Regions from separate parts of the Homo sapiens genome. Here all the other regions are linked to region 1. The links are contacts of gene promoters, found by promoter capture Hi-C in human tissues and cell types (Jung and others, 2019). All regions are on one chromosome and are shown on one strand. Each heading gives the region's core, a stretch centred on a gene start or on the middle of the fragment in contact. The rest is flanking DNA. Distances are from core to core; before and after follow the strand shown.

The links. The method cuts DNA at HindIII sites, captures the fragments that hold promoters and counts their contacts. A contact is called where the count stands out against the background at its distance.
Region 2: a contact is called between a fragment that was not itself captured here and the fragment with the promoter of C5orf63 in region 1, in 1 of the 25 tissues and cell types used here (mesenchymal stem cells).
Region 3: a fragment that was not itself captured here is called in contact with the fragment with the promoter of C5orf63 in region 1 in 1 of the 25 tissues and cell types used here (H1 embryonic stem cells).

What each region holds. Positions count from the first base shown.
Region 1 is chr5:127,071,025-127,075,176 of GRCh38, forward strand. C5orf63 (chromosome 5 open reading frame 63) reads right to left here and starts at 2,478. Exons shown (of 5, transcript NM_001164478.2): 1 at 2,427-2,478; 2 at 560-661. RefSeq lists a silencer at 2,335-2,554. The HindIII fragment of the contact is 2,852 bases long and covers 986-3,837 here.
Region 2 is chr5:127,508,187-127,512,338 of GRCh38, forward strand. It overlaps the pseudogene HNRNPKP1. Among named protein-coding and RNA genes, the nearest start is that of PRRC1, 7.4 kb to the right of the region's middle. The HindIII fragment of the contact is 6,089 bases long and covers 1-4,152 here.
Region 3 is chr5:127,490,958-127,495,109 of GRCh38, forward strand. No RefSeq gene overlaps it. Among named protein-coding and RNA genes, the nearest start is that of PRRC1, 25 kb to the right of the region's middle. The HindIII fragment of the contact is 4,370 bases long and covers 1-3,982 here.

The DNA of each region.
Region 1 (4,152 bases), core at 1,228-3,727:
TACTTTTTATAGATCCAACCTCCCTTCAGGGACACTATCTTTTCATTTCTATAGCTTGTACTGAGCATTTGCAATGTGCCAGGTGCTGTGCCATGTATTAGAAATATAAAAGTGATTAAGATATTGTCACTGCCCTTAAGAAACTCACACCTTGAGCAGGAGAAAGACTCACAAACAAATAACACAATACCACAGTGATGAAGGCTACAACAGTAAAAAGGCTGTTACTAGATATTACTGGTGAAATGGTCTGAAATCCTTGGAGATGGATACTTTCTAAAAATAGTAGGTAGGTTCTTTCAGTTTGCCTCCATATCTAGGAACTTTAACTTTGGTAAGGATTGGAATAAAAAGAGAGTAACATTTTCATGTTTCCTGTTCTCCGTGGCTGTACTGGGATGGGAAGTTAGGGATGTGGAATCATGTCTAAGATAAACTTAGCCAAAACTTTTCATTTGCATATTCTTCCCCAAATGATTTTGTCCCTAGAATTTGTTATGCAATACTAGGGGAAGGATAGAGGAAGCTCACCTAGTCCCTGCTGTGTAGCTACACATACCTGATCCAGATGATTTCTCCCCTTCGAAATAATTGCAAACAAGATTAAAACTGTATTCAGGAAGTATTCCAGCTGGCTTTTGGCTTCCTCTGATGTACAGTCCTTGAATAAAGCAGTAGCAAAAATTAGATTTAAATAAGGAACATAAAAACACCTCGCTACTTGTACCAGATCACCTCAAGGTCCTGCTATGTTTGAAACCCCAAGGCCTAGCATTAGAGTAACTGAATACATCAGCCAGCTAGAGTATATACAAGTTATGAAATAAAAAAACTTTAATAATAAAAAATAACCTATTTTAAAGGGATTTCTCATAGTGCCTCTGAGTACTTTAGAGCCAGGCATCTGGAACAAAATAGAAACACAGTCCAATCAACTCCCAAGTTGGAAAAATCCTCATTTCTATTACTTACCTGCCAACAGTCCATCTAAATAAAACCACACAGCCACATATTCCTCTGATGAAGGAGACAAAAAAATATTGATCCTTCCTTGGCATGTGGCTACTGCTGCCAGAGCAGGAGGGAAGAAAGACAATCTGAGGATCCTGCCTGTTTAAAGCACCAGCCCCACCAATCTTAATTTTCACAACAGGGTCTTTCTGGTTCCAGGCAATTCCTCAGCAGAGCAGGACGCAGGTTATTGGGCTACGATATTTCACACAGAACCATGATTAGTTCTGCTTTGCCCCAGTATTATCATAATTATCCAATATTTCCAGGGTGTATCTTTTTTCCCCGTGTTTTAAATCTTTCTAATTACCTATAATGCACCCCAATGTATACAGCTCCAAATATTGGTAGAGAGCTTCACATGCATTTTTATAAGCTAGTCCTCAGAATATGACCAAATGAGAAGACTGCGACCTCTAATAGACACCTCAACTTGTTCAGCATTGTGCACCAAGGCATAGCTCTAGTGGCTGCTTAAACAAGACAATGTATACTAATTCTGGGAAATGCGCTAGAAAGTATTGGGATATAACAGATCTTAGACACCATCTCTGTCCTTGAGGAATTGAGAATCTTGGGGTCAAGCTAAGGCCATACTATGGATTTTTTTTTTAAGGGCACTAAAATATAAAGTACCACATATACACTATTTATTAATAAACAAGAATAAAGATCACCCAAGCAAAACATTCCCTGTGAAAGACAGCCTTAGAAACAGTCACAAGCCTAACTCACAATGACATTTTAGTGGGGACTTTTCTACCCTTGGACTTATTAAAAAACTGTATGAGCTGCTATTTGTCAGAAGTGAATATCTGTTGAGAATGTACAGTTTCTGATTTATTCTCTCATTGTTCAGTACCCAGAGGGCTGCTTTTGCCCAATAAGGCTGAGAGGAGATCCAGACAGCTCATCCAGAGAGCCCCGGCACTCACAATGTTCCCTGCTGCACCTTTCAACCTTTTCACCCCAATTAAAGGTCAACATGGCTGCTCAAAAATATTTATTTAAAAAGGCAGTCAGCTCAGCGGGCTCCCAAGTGTGATTACACTACCACTTCATAGAATTCAATTAAACCCGGGACGGGGCATCGGCGAATCACTGGAGGAGTATGAAGTTGAGATGTTTTCTGCTTTCTCGAGATGTTTTCTGCTTTCTCTTAAAAAAAAAAAAAGCTTCCTTTTCCCGCCCGTCATTTATTTACTTCCCAGAGCGCTATCACAGACACACACACACGCGTTTATAATCTCCCCCAAGTAGTTCATGGATTTATGGCTCCCGGTTTAATTAAATTCCGTATAACGACTATCCAAATGGGCAGCACGCGGCACAGCGAACCCCCGCCAGCCTGCGCGTCAGCTCAGAGGCGGAGACCCGCGAGCGCTCACCCTCGGCGCGGGACTAAGGGAACCCACCTGAGCCTCACGCCGCCAACGCCTCTGCTTCCGCCCTGCGCCGGGCACTTCCGCCCGCACCCACCAGGCGCCGGCCCCAGGCCCCGCACTTCCGCCCCACGCCGGCAGCACTGCCGCTGGGCGTTCTATCTCAGGTGGTGTCCCGTCTACGCTCTCAAGGGTGGCCGCGCCTGAACCTTTACTCGTGAAGAGTGACACACAAACCAAGGCCAAACTAAAAAACAAAATACGGAAAAGTGACCCCGCATGTTTGGGAACCATTTAATAAGAGGCCTCAGGTGCGGGAGCCAACTTTTTGAGGCTGCGGAGTCCGAGCCATTTTAACCGCTCTGCATGCATCCATTCTTTCGTTAATTTAATATTTACTGCCTCCTCCACTAGGTCTTGGCTGAACTAGGTTATGGGGAATGCGATGAGCAAAACTGGCAGCCGTACCCTCCCGCAAACTGAAAATCGTGTGAGAAAGCAGATATTAGGAAATTATCCCTTATTAAATAGGCCATGGGTTTATTCAGCTAAGTGCTTTGCAGGGAAGGAATATGAGAAAAGACCTGAGTGGGATCTCGTTGAAGAGGTAGCTTTGGGGCTGGGATCTGAAGGGCGTGGGTTGGGGACAGAGCTCTGCAGGCTGGGGGAAGGGTCTGGTGGAGGATGTGCAGTATGGGTTGTATGCGGAAGACTGACGAGTATGGCTGAGACTTAGAGGGAATGGGGAAGAGAGGTGGAAACAGGCTAGAGAGGGTAAGCGAGAGTCTGGCCATGCAGGGCCTTTCAGGTTTGTGCTAAGGGTAGCCGGGGGGCATTTCTGTTTTATGTGGGAAGGGGATTGAACTGATTGCTTTTCCCTTCTGAAAGGACCCCTTAGCTTTGGGAAGTAGATGGGAAGGGTTTAGGATAGGCAAGAGTAGAACAAGCAGGGAGGTGAGGAAGCTACTGAGCATTCCAGGTTCTAGGTGTGGTGGCTTGAATGGTGGTACAGTAAATAATGAGAAAATGATGGATAATAATTATAGTAATACTCAAAGCTAACATTTATTGATTGCTCACCAAAAGCTTTATACTCATTAGTCTGTTTAATCCTGAGAACAATGCAATTAAGTATTACTAGTACCATTTTACAGATGAAGTAATGGAGGTTTAATAACTTGCTCAAGTTCTCACAGTTACAAAACGGTAGATTTGGAATTCCATCTCATGCTGTCTGACGCCTTAAGCTTACCACTATAAATTCAATGTGTACTCAGTGGTTTTAAAAAAGATACAAAGCAAACCAAGGTCAGGAATGAATTCTTTAAACAAACCACACTGATTATGTGATGTCGCTAGAGGCCACATTAAGATAGTAGAATTTACAAGTTCTTTGTCACTTCAGCATTTTCTGATAGGCTAAAGAGGGAATTTTGTGACTGTCAACAGACTACCTATAGTTATTTTTGAGTTGATGCACTCTGATAAGACTTAGTTTTTCTGGAAAAAAAAAAGTCAATTGATAAAGCACAGTCCACCTAACAGTTGCTGATAGGATACCTTTAAAGAAGGAATCTGGGATCTAGTTATAAACACCTTGGTGGGGCATGAGTATCTTAGATATTGTGGAGTGACAGAAAAGCTTACTAGAAATGTAACTCCAGATCAGCTTCCAAATCTTATTTATTGTTGGAAAACAAAGGTTTATAAAATCACTTGGACTTATGAAACCTGATTTCACCCACTGAAGGAAAAGAAT
Region 2 (4,152 bases), core at 708-3,207, 440 kb after region 1:
TGCCTAGACACCAAAGTGAAGCTATTAAACAGTTGTAGAGTTTAGGAGAGAAGTTATGGTTGGACATATAGAGATGGAAGTCATTAGCATACAGATGTTGTTTAAGGCTGTGGACTGGTGAAGATCACTGGGAGCTTGAAAAGAAATACAAGTACTACCTACTGGATCATTTCAACAGGAATTTTTACTACAAATAAGGATAGCTGTGTTTTTTCCATGTTAAAATTTTTTTTATCTCTTTTTACATTGTTACTTTAAATGAAAGGCTTCTATCTCACTACTTAAGTGTGTTGGCTATGTTATTTTGTACATGTCCTTTATCAGGTTAATGATTGCTTCTATTCCTAGTTTAACAAGAGTTATGAGTAAGAGTTCAATTTTATCAAATGTTTTTAACTGTATCTACTGGTATTATCAGATTCCTTTTCTTTTTAAATTTGGTAAATCATCAATAAATTTTTCTGACGTAGGACCACTCTTCTATTCCTGGGAGGAAAACAACATTACTTAGTCACAATGTATATCATCAATCATCATCATCACTATCACCCAATTCAATTTTCTAACATTTCACCTAGAATTTTTTTTCTTTTTTCTTTTTTTTTTTTTTTTTTTTTTTTTGTTTGCAGGGCTAACTCCGAGGCAGTGTGCCCAGAGTTAGCCTTTTCATCTATGTTGATAAGGGAGAATGTCTTATTTTCTTTTGTCTAGTTAGGAAGCTAACCATAATGAATGCTCACTACAGAAATCATTTAACTATCCCTCACTCATCAGGGGAGGAAATTAAAGCTCAGAGAAGGTAACCCTCAGACAAGAGTTGCTTTCTTAATTAGTGGCAGAAGCTGTGCTAGATTCCTAATCTAGTGTATTTTCCACCTAACCCTGCTGACCTGCTTAGAAGCAGTTAGTTCTATGAGATAGGAAGCAGAAGGACACCAAATGGCTGTTCCCATGCAGCTGGTTTGATTGGGGAGTTACATAAATTGGACTCATTCACCTCACAGGCTCTCTTGTCAAAATTTCACTTCTAAGCATTAAAGAAATGCTGAATTGACAAAAGAAAAAGCACATGGCCCTGAGCTTTAAATATTGCTTGAAAATGAAGGTGCTTGTAGGAACAATTGTGTTATGTTTCCTTTTCTAAACTATCATAAAAATTAAAAGGGAAAAGTGGAATGTTCTGTGAATTAAAAGTCTTGAGAAACACTACTACAGATATAAATATTTAGGAGGTATCATGCACTGAGAGCTATTGCTTGAAGTTATGCAAACTTTTAACTTTGTAAAAACACAAAATTCTAGAAAACAATTAGAATACTCTGCAATATGTTATTGCATATTAACAGGGATTCCTTGGCCAGAGAACTAATTTTAGTGGCATGGTTTCTTATTCAAAGGAAAATTTCAAATTTTTCAAAAGAAACATTTGTTCTGTCTCCTACAAGAATATTTTTAGTGAACTCATATTTGGAGGAGAAAAAAGATGATTATGAGGACGTTTTGCTATGTGTGTGCTGCACATGAATCTTAATAGAAAATTCAACTAAATTCAAAACATGTTCGTAGTACTCACTCACGTAAAAATTTGAATGTAGTGGTATTCTAAACCCAAAGTTACTACCATCAAGGAGCTCATAAATGAATAGAGAATATAAGCATGTACAGCCAACAATACTACAATGTAAAAAGATTTTATGGTAGAAGAAAACTTTGAGCAAGTCCTTGAAAAGTGAAGAATACCTATTAGTAGAAGGTGGAAAGGGAAAAACATGCTCAGGTAAAGGGATTGATAGGGGCAAAGGTGCATGGCTTCAGGCTTCGGTAGGGCAGATTCTTGCAGTGGGTGCCTGGGAAATATGGAGCAGGATGTAGGAAAAGGAGAAGAGTCTAGAAAGCAAGAGTAAATTGAGTTTTTAAGATTTTACCATATGAGAAAGAAGGAGTGATAGACGTTTTCATAAATATGTATTTGAGAAAAATAATTGAGTTTGCTCTTCTTTTTTCTTTTTCTTTCTTTTTTTACAATTTAAGATTACTGTATTTCCTTGTAAGAGGAATGTTTCAATAAATTTTACAGGTGTCAATCAACCCTTGTTCAAATTGGTCACATATCAAATCTAGCATCATGGGTGTTTTATTTATTTGCAAGTGAATTTTAACTATCATAACAAATGCCAATATACTACGCAAAACATCCACAGGAACTTTTTTCATCTTTTTTTGAATTGTACACAAACATTTCCTACATAATCCAACATACAACAGAGAAATGGTACATCTTTTTCTTTCAATTTGCATACAATGGAAAAACAAGTATATATGTATTTTATAAAGTTTAATAAGACATTAGAGCAAGTTGACAGTTTATAGGTGAGAAATTATCTAATAAAAATAATCAGTTTTTTTCAGCATCAGTCACTTCCATAACCAAGTGTTATTCTGATTAATAAAACTTGCTGCCAATCAGAATTCTGGTATATACTCATACCATTACTCAATTTGTAGTACTGCTCCCCACTTTAGTTCTTCACAACCACTAACATATAAAATTGTTGAAAAGCAGGGGCAAGCATTTGCAAAAACAAACAAAAAATGCCCAGCTTTTTATAAGCATGAATATGTATGTTGGAATTTCTTCCCAGAAATAGGCTTTCAAACCATCAAGAAATCACCAGAACTAAGTTTGCCGAGTTATTTTGCCTATGTCCAAGAAGAGATGCACTTACATATCCAACAGAGGAGCTGAAAATCAAACTTAGTGTTTAGTTTGGGGGTGGAGAAATTCAGCCACCATTTTAAAATGACTGTCTTAAAAAAAATGACCACAAAAAATAGGTTCACTAAATTTATTTTAAAAATCATAAAATGTTTCTTTAAAAAGAGCATTATATTCTGCACACTGCTCTGAACAGATGCCAGGGACATATGGACTATTGTTACTTTTCCTCCCTGTCCCACCCCCCAAATGTTACAGTGACCACAAAGCAAGGTGTTCGCAATAATTACATGGGGGGAATTTTTTTTAAACCATCAACAATAACAAAAAATAAAATCCACTCACTCTGCTGCTGTTTCAAAATTTCAATGTTAGTTTTTGCACGCCCTTCCCCCACAACCCTATTTGTAAGGAACTAAAACATTACATCTGGTGAACAGCAAAGATTTCACTACACTTCAAATGCAGAACACCTACAAAGCAGAGGAATGTTGGCTTTTTAAACAGAAGCAAATAAAAAAAAAAGATGCAGGACTCCTCCAGTTCTTCACTAGTCTTAGAAAAACTTTCCAGAATACTGCTACACATTGTTCTGCAGCAAATATTGTGCATTCTGTATCTGGTCCTGTGTTCCTGTAATGATAGTGATCTGATCTTCGGATCCTTCTAAAGGCTCATCAATTTTGATTGAAGCTCCCAACTCATGACCGATTTGTTTAATCCGCTGACCACCTTTGCCAATAATAGATCCAGTCAAATCTTTGGGAATAGTTACTTGTGCAGTAGTAATAGGTCCACCAAGATCACCATATGAGCCACCAATCCCTGCATAGGAATAATCATATCCGGAGCCACCCTGTGGTTCATAAGCCATCTGCCATTCCGATGGGCTCCATGTATCTATTGCAGAGTTCCAAGTTTCATCAGGACTGAAACCAACCATGCCATCGTAACAGTCTCCAGGTCTCCCTCTTCTGTCATAGGCCATTAGGTCTTCCCCTCTAGGTGGTGGTGGTGGAGGAAGAGGAAGATTCCGAGCTCTGCTACCACCCCGGCCACCTCGTCCAGTAAGAGGAGGAGGTGGTCCTCGATGAGGGTTCATATCTCTTCTAGATGGAGGCATGGGACGCCCACTCCAACCAGGAGGCATTCTGTCAAAACCACCTCTTCCCCACATTGGAAATCCCACTGGGCATCCAGGGCGGTCATCAAACATCATTGTAAAACCACCATAATCATAGGTTTCATTGTAAAAACTGGGATCATAAGGCTGTGCAGGTCCTTTGATGGGAGACTCAGATATAAGATCAAGGATGATCTTTATGCACTCTACAACCCTATTGGGTTTTCCTCCAATAAGAACAACTCTGTCAGTGGGATGAGAACAGCATTCCTAGAAAAGCTTGATGGTTGTTTGAGCGTTCTCTCAAAGTTCT
Region 3 (4,152 bases), core at 548-3,047, 420 kb after region 1:
ATTTAAAAAATCGAATTAACCATCTTGGGCTAATGTGTGTGTGTGTGTGTGTGTGTGTGTGTGTGTGTACATAGCATAGATATAGGAATAGATATGGATAAGAATGTGGCTATATTTGTTTGTATCCTTATACATGGTATATTGAACTATCAAGCTTGTTGCAAAGTGCAAGGAGAAACTAACTAATCTTTCAACTTCTAAAGACTTTGCTCCTGAATGAAATATTGACAAGTTTTATAGCTCTTCTAATCATTTTCATGTGATAAAATACAGCATAGTCAAATATAAACCCTACATTCTCATCCAATTTTAGATGATTCTCCTTCCCCAGCTCAGCTCACATGGGTTCAAAAACTTACAACGAGAAAGCAGGACGTGGTTGGCTTCTTTCCTCTTTCTTCGTACACCCCCTTCTCACTTGCTGGATGTGCTTTTGGTCAATGGGAAGAGAAGGAAGGATATAAAAGGGGCATTAAGGAGAAAACAATTTTTCAAGGCTCACAGGGTCACAATCTGGTATGAAGCTTTGCTTTGTATTCCACACGCAGTGCTCTTTCTTTTAAAGGCAGTTTTGTAAAAAACTGTGAAAGATCCCGCAGTATTGCTCATGCATACAGCTTACAAACCCTAAGCTTAGCTACTAGATTCTAGCAGCTCACCCTACTGTTGTGGCTACCTATTCTTCTAAGTAATACTTTTAGGTAGTATGTCCCTCCCAAGTAGCCATAAAATCTTGAGAGAAATGTACATTCACTTTTGCCCTAACAGACTATGAAAGTGCAGTCCATTTCTAAGCAGATCACTTTGGCTCTAACTTTTAGAATATATTTACTCATGAACCCCATACCAATTACTGTGTCCTCAAATTCTAGGGAGCATCTGTCTTGCTCTTTGATTGTTTCTGTCAATATATGTCCCTGGCTGGGATTAAAATGAGAGTAGCATTAGCGCCACATCTAGATGGAGACGAGAAACATCATGATTCTCCAATTTTCTCTTTAAAGAAATACTGTACTTCTTTTCTTCATCTTTATCATCCCATAACCAATTCTCTAGCCTGGTTTCATACAGCATTTGAAGCGAAGGATGATTTAAGTTTTGTAAACCCAGTCTCACATTATCTTAGAATGCCCAGCAAACATGCACATTGAGAAGCTGAGACTTTAGCTGAAACATCAAGATAACAAAAAAGTCACAGCTAAAATCTTCTCTTTCTCTTACACATGCGCACACACACACACACACACACCTACCTGCACCCAAAATTTGAGCCTTAAAAAAAAACCAAACATAATGTAGACCCATTCTTGTATCTCAATGTAACAAAATTAGAAATCAAAAAATAAAGATAAAATCCTCATACAATTGGAAAGTTTAAAACACAGTTTTAAATAAGTCATAAATCAAAGAAGATAATGGAAATTAAAAAATAATTAGAACAGAATTACCAAAAAATCCCTGTGGATCAAAATTTGTATACCTAAAATTTAATTTAAACTAAAATATAATTACATGGGGAAAATTGCCTATATAGAGTAAGGATTTAACCTTTACTAAATGCCAGTAAGATGTTGCTTATAGATTTTGTTGTATTAGATCATGTATATTCTTTGTGTCTTTTTAGAAAGCAATTCATTCCTTTTAAAAAATTTTAATTTATGAGAATCTCTAAAGTAATTTCTTATTCTTCACATGGTTATAATGAAAACGGACTGTTCTCTAAATACTGCGATACTTCAATGACATGTTTATATTATTTAAGTAATTCGTTAAAAGCAATTTATTCTCTTTTTATTCTCAGGTAGACACATTAGGGTAAATCTCCTGCATTTCAATTGATCTTTAAAAAAAATGAGGAAAATTCAGGGCCTTAAGAATAAAGTGCTAGCAATGACAATCAAGTGCTGAAAGCAGAGAAAGAAAAATATATGTATATATATATTATTTTAAAAGCTTTGAGCTCCCTCTAATGGCCTTTGGTAAAATTCCCAGAAGCAATAAGACAACTTTACTTAAGTAATAAATCTCCAATAAAGATGTTTTAAGAACATCTTCAAAATGTTCAGATTGCTGTTTTACTTTAAGTAGAGCATTCATTGTGGGGAAAAACTGAGCATATCCAAATGTTGCTGTGGGAATGTCCTTTCCTGTCTACCTGTTATCCTGTTACTGATGAGAGACACATTTTCTCTCCCCCTAGTGGATGTTTACAAAAATGACACAAAGATATTACCAAACTAAGAGATTAAATTATTGCAATCAGAGAATTTAGATAGCACTAGCTGAGGCTCTTGACATGATTCAGCCTAACCTGTCATTTTGTGCTAGAGGAAATACAACAAATTTATGACTGTGTCATGGTCCAGGGGCACAGGCTCACTAAAATACTGAAGCAAATTTTAGGACTATGAACAATTTCCTTCACTCTACGCCTTACTTCTCCTTAATAGGGTTCCTGTACAACAACAGGAATTACAGTGGAAAGAACTGCAAACCTCAGGAATGATTTAAGAAGTGTCCAGGGAAATCCAAAGACAACAGAGGAGACGAAAACAGGGACACCAGAGGAAACTTTAGCCTCTGACAGAGCTACTGCAAAGAGGAAACACAGTCGAACTCCCAGTCATATAAAACCTCACACTAAAGACATAAAACCTCACACTAAAGACATAAAACTAAAGACATAAAACCTCACACTAAAGACATAAAATATATAAACCATAAAACCTCACACTAAGGACATGTTTATCTGTTTTTTTTACCCAGTACTTCATATTTAGCTTTCATCAAAAAATTACAAGGCATGAAAAAAGGTGAAAACCACAGTGTGAAGAGACAGAGCAGGCCTCACAACTAGACTCATATATGGCAGAAATTTTAGAATTATCAGACTTGGAATCTGAAAGAATTCTGAGTGATATGCTAAGGGTTCTAATGGAAAAAGTGGACAACATGCAACTACTGATGGGTAGTGTAAATACAAATATGAAAACTCTACGAAAGACTCAAAAGTAAATGCTATTATACAAATTAAAAATCCTGCAATAGAAGGGAGGAATGCCTTCGATTACTTATCAGTAGACTGGACATGGCTGAGAAAAGAATCAGTGAAATTAAAAATATATCAGCACTAACCTGCACATTGTGCACATGTACCTTAAAACTTAAAGTATAATAATAATAAAATAAAAAAATAAAAAATAAAAATATATCAGTAAAAACATCTCAAACTGAAAAGCAAAGAGAAAAAAGAATGAATAAAAACAGAATAGTATACCCCAAAATTGTGGGACAATTGCCAAAGGTATAAATACATATAATGGGAATACCAGAAGGAGAAGAAAGAGAAAGAAACAGAAGCAACATTTGAAGCAATAATGACAGAGAATTTTCTCCAAATTAATGAGACACCAGATCACAGATTCAGGAAGCTCAGAGAACACAAAGCAGGATAAATATCCCCCCAAAATCTATACATAGGCAAATCACATTTAAACCACAGAAAAGCAAAGACAAAAATAATGGCTTAAAAGAAACCAGAGGGGAAAAGAAACCCACCTTACTTATAGAGGAGCAAAGATGATAATTACATCAGGCTTTTATGTAGAAACCATGTAGGGCCCAGCATGGTGGCTCACATCTGTAATCCCAGCATTTTGGGAGGCTGAGGTGGGAGGATCACTTGAGTTTAGGAGTTCGGGACCAGCCTGGCCAACATGGCGAAACCCCATCTCTACAGAAAATACCAAAATTAGCCAGATGTGGTGGCACACACCTGTAATCCCAGCTACTCAGGTGGCTAGGAAGCACAAGAATCACCTGAACTCAGGAAGCAGAGGTAGCAGTGAGCTGAGATCATGCCACTGTACTCCAGCCTGGGTGACAGAGGGAGACCCTGTTTCAGAAAGAAAGAAAAGAAAGAAAGAAAGAAAGAAAGAAAGAAAGAAAGAAAGAAAGAAAGAAAGAAAGAAAGAAAGAAAGAAGGAAGGAAGGAAGGAAGGAAGGAAGGAAGGAGAAAGAAAGGAAAGAAAGAAGAGAAAGAGGAAGGAAGGAAGGAAGGAAAGGGAAGGGAAGGGAAGCAAGGAAGGAAGGAAGGAAAGAAGAAAGAAAGAGAAAGAAAGAAAGAAAGAAAGAAGGAAGGAAAGAAAGAAA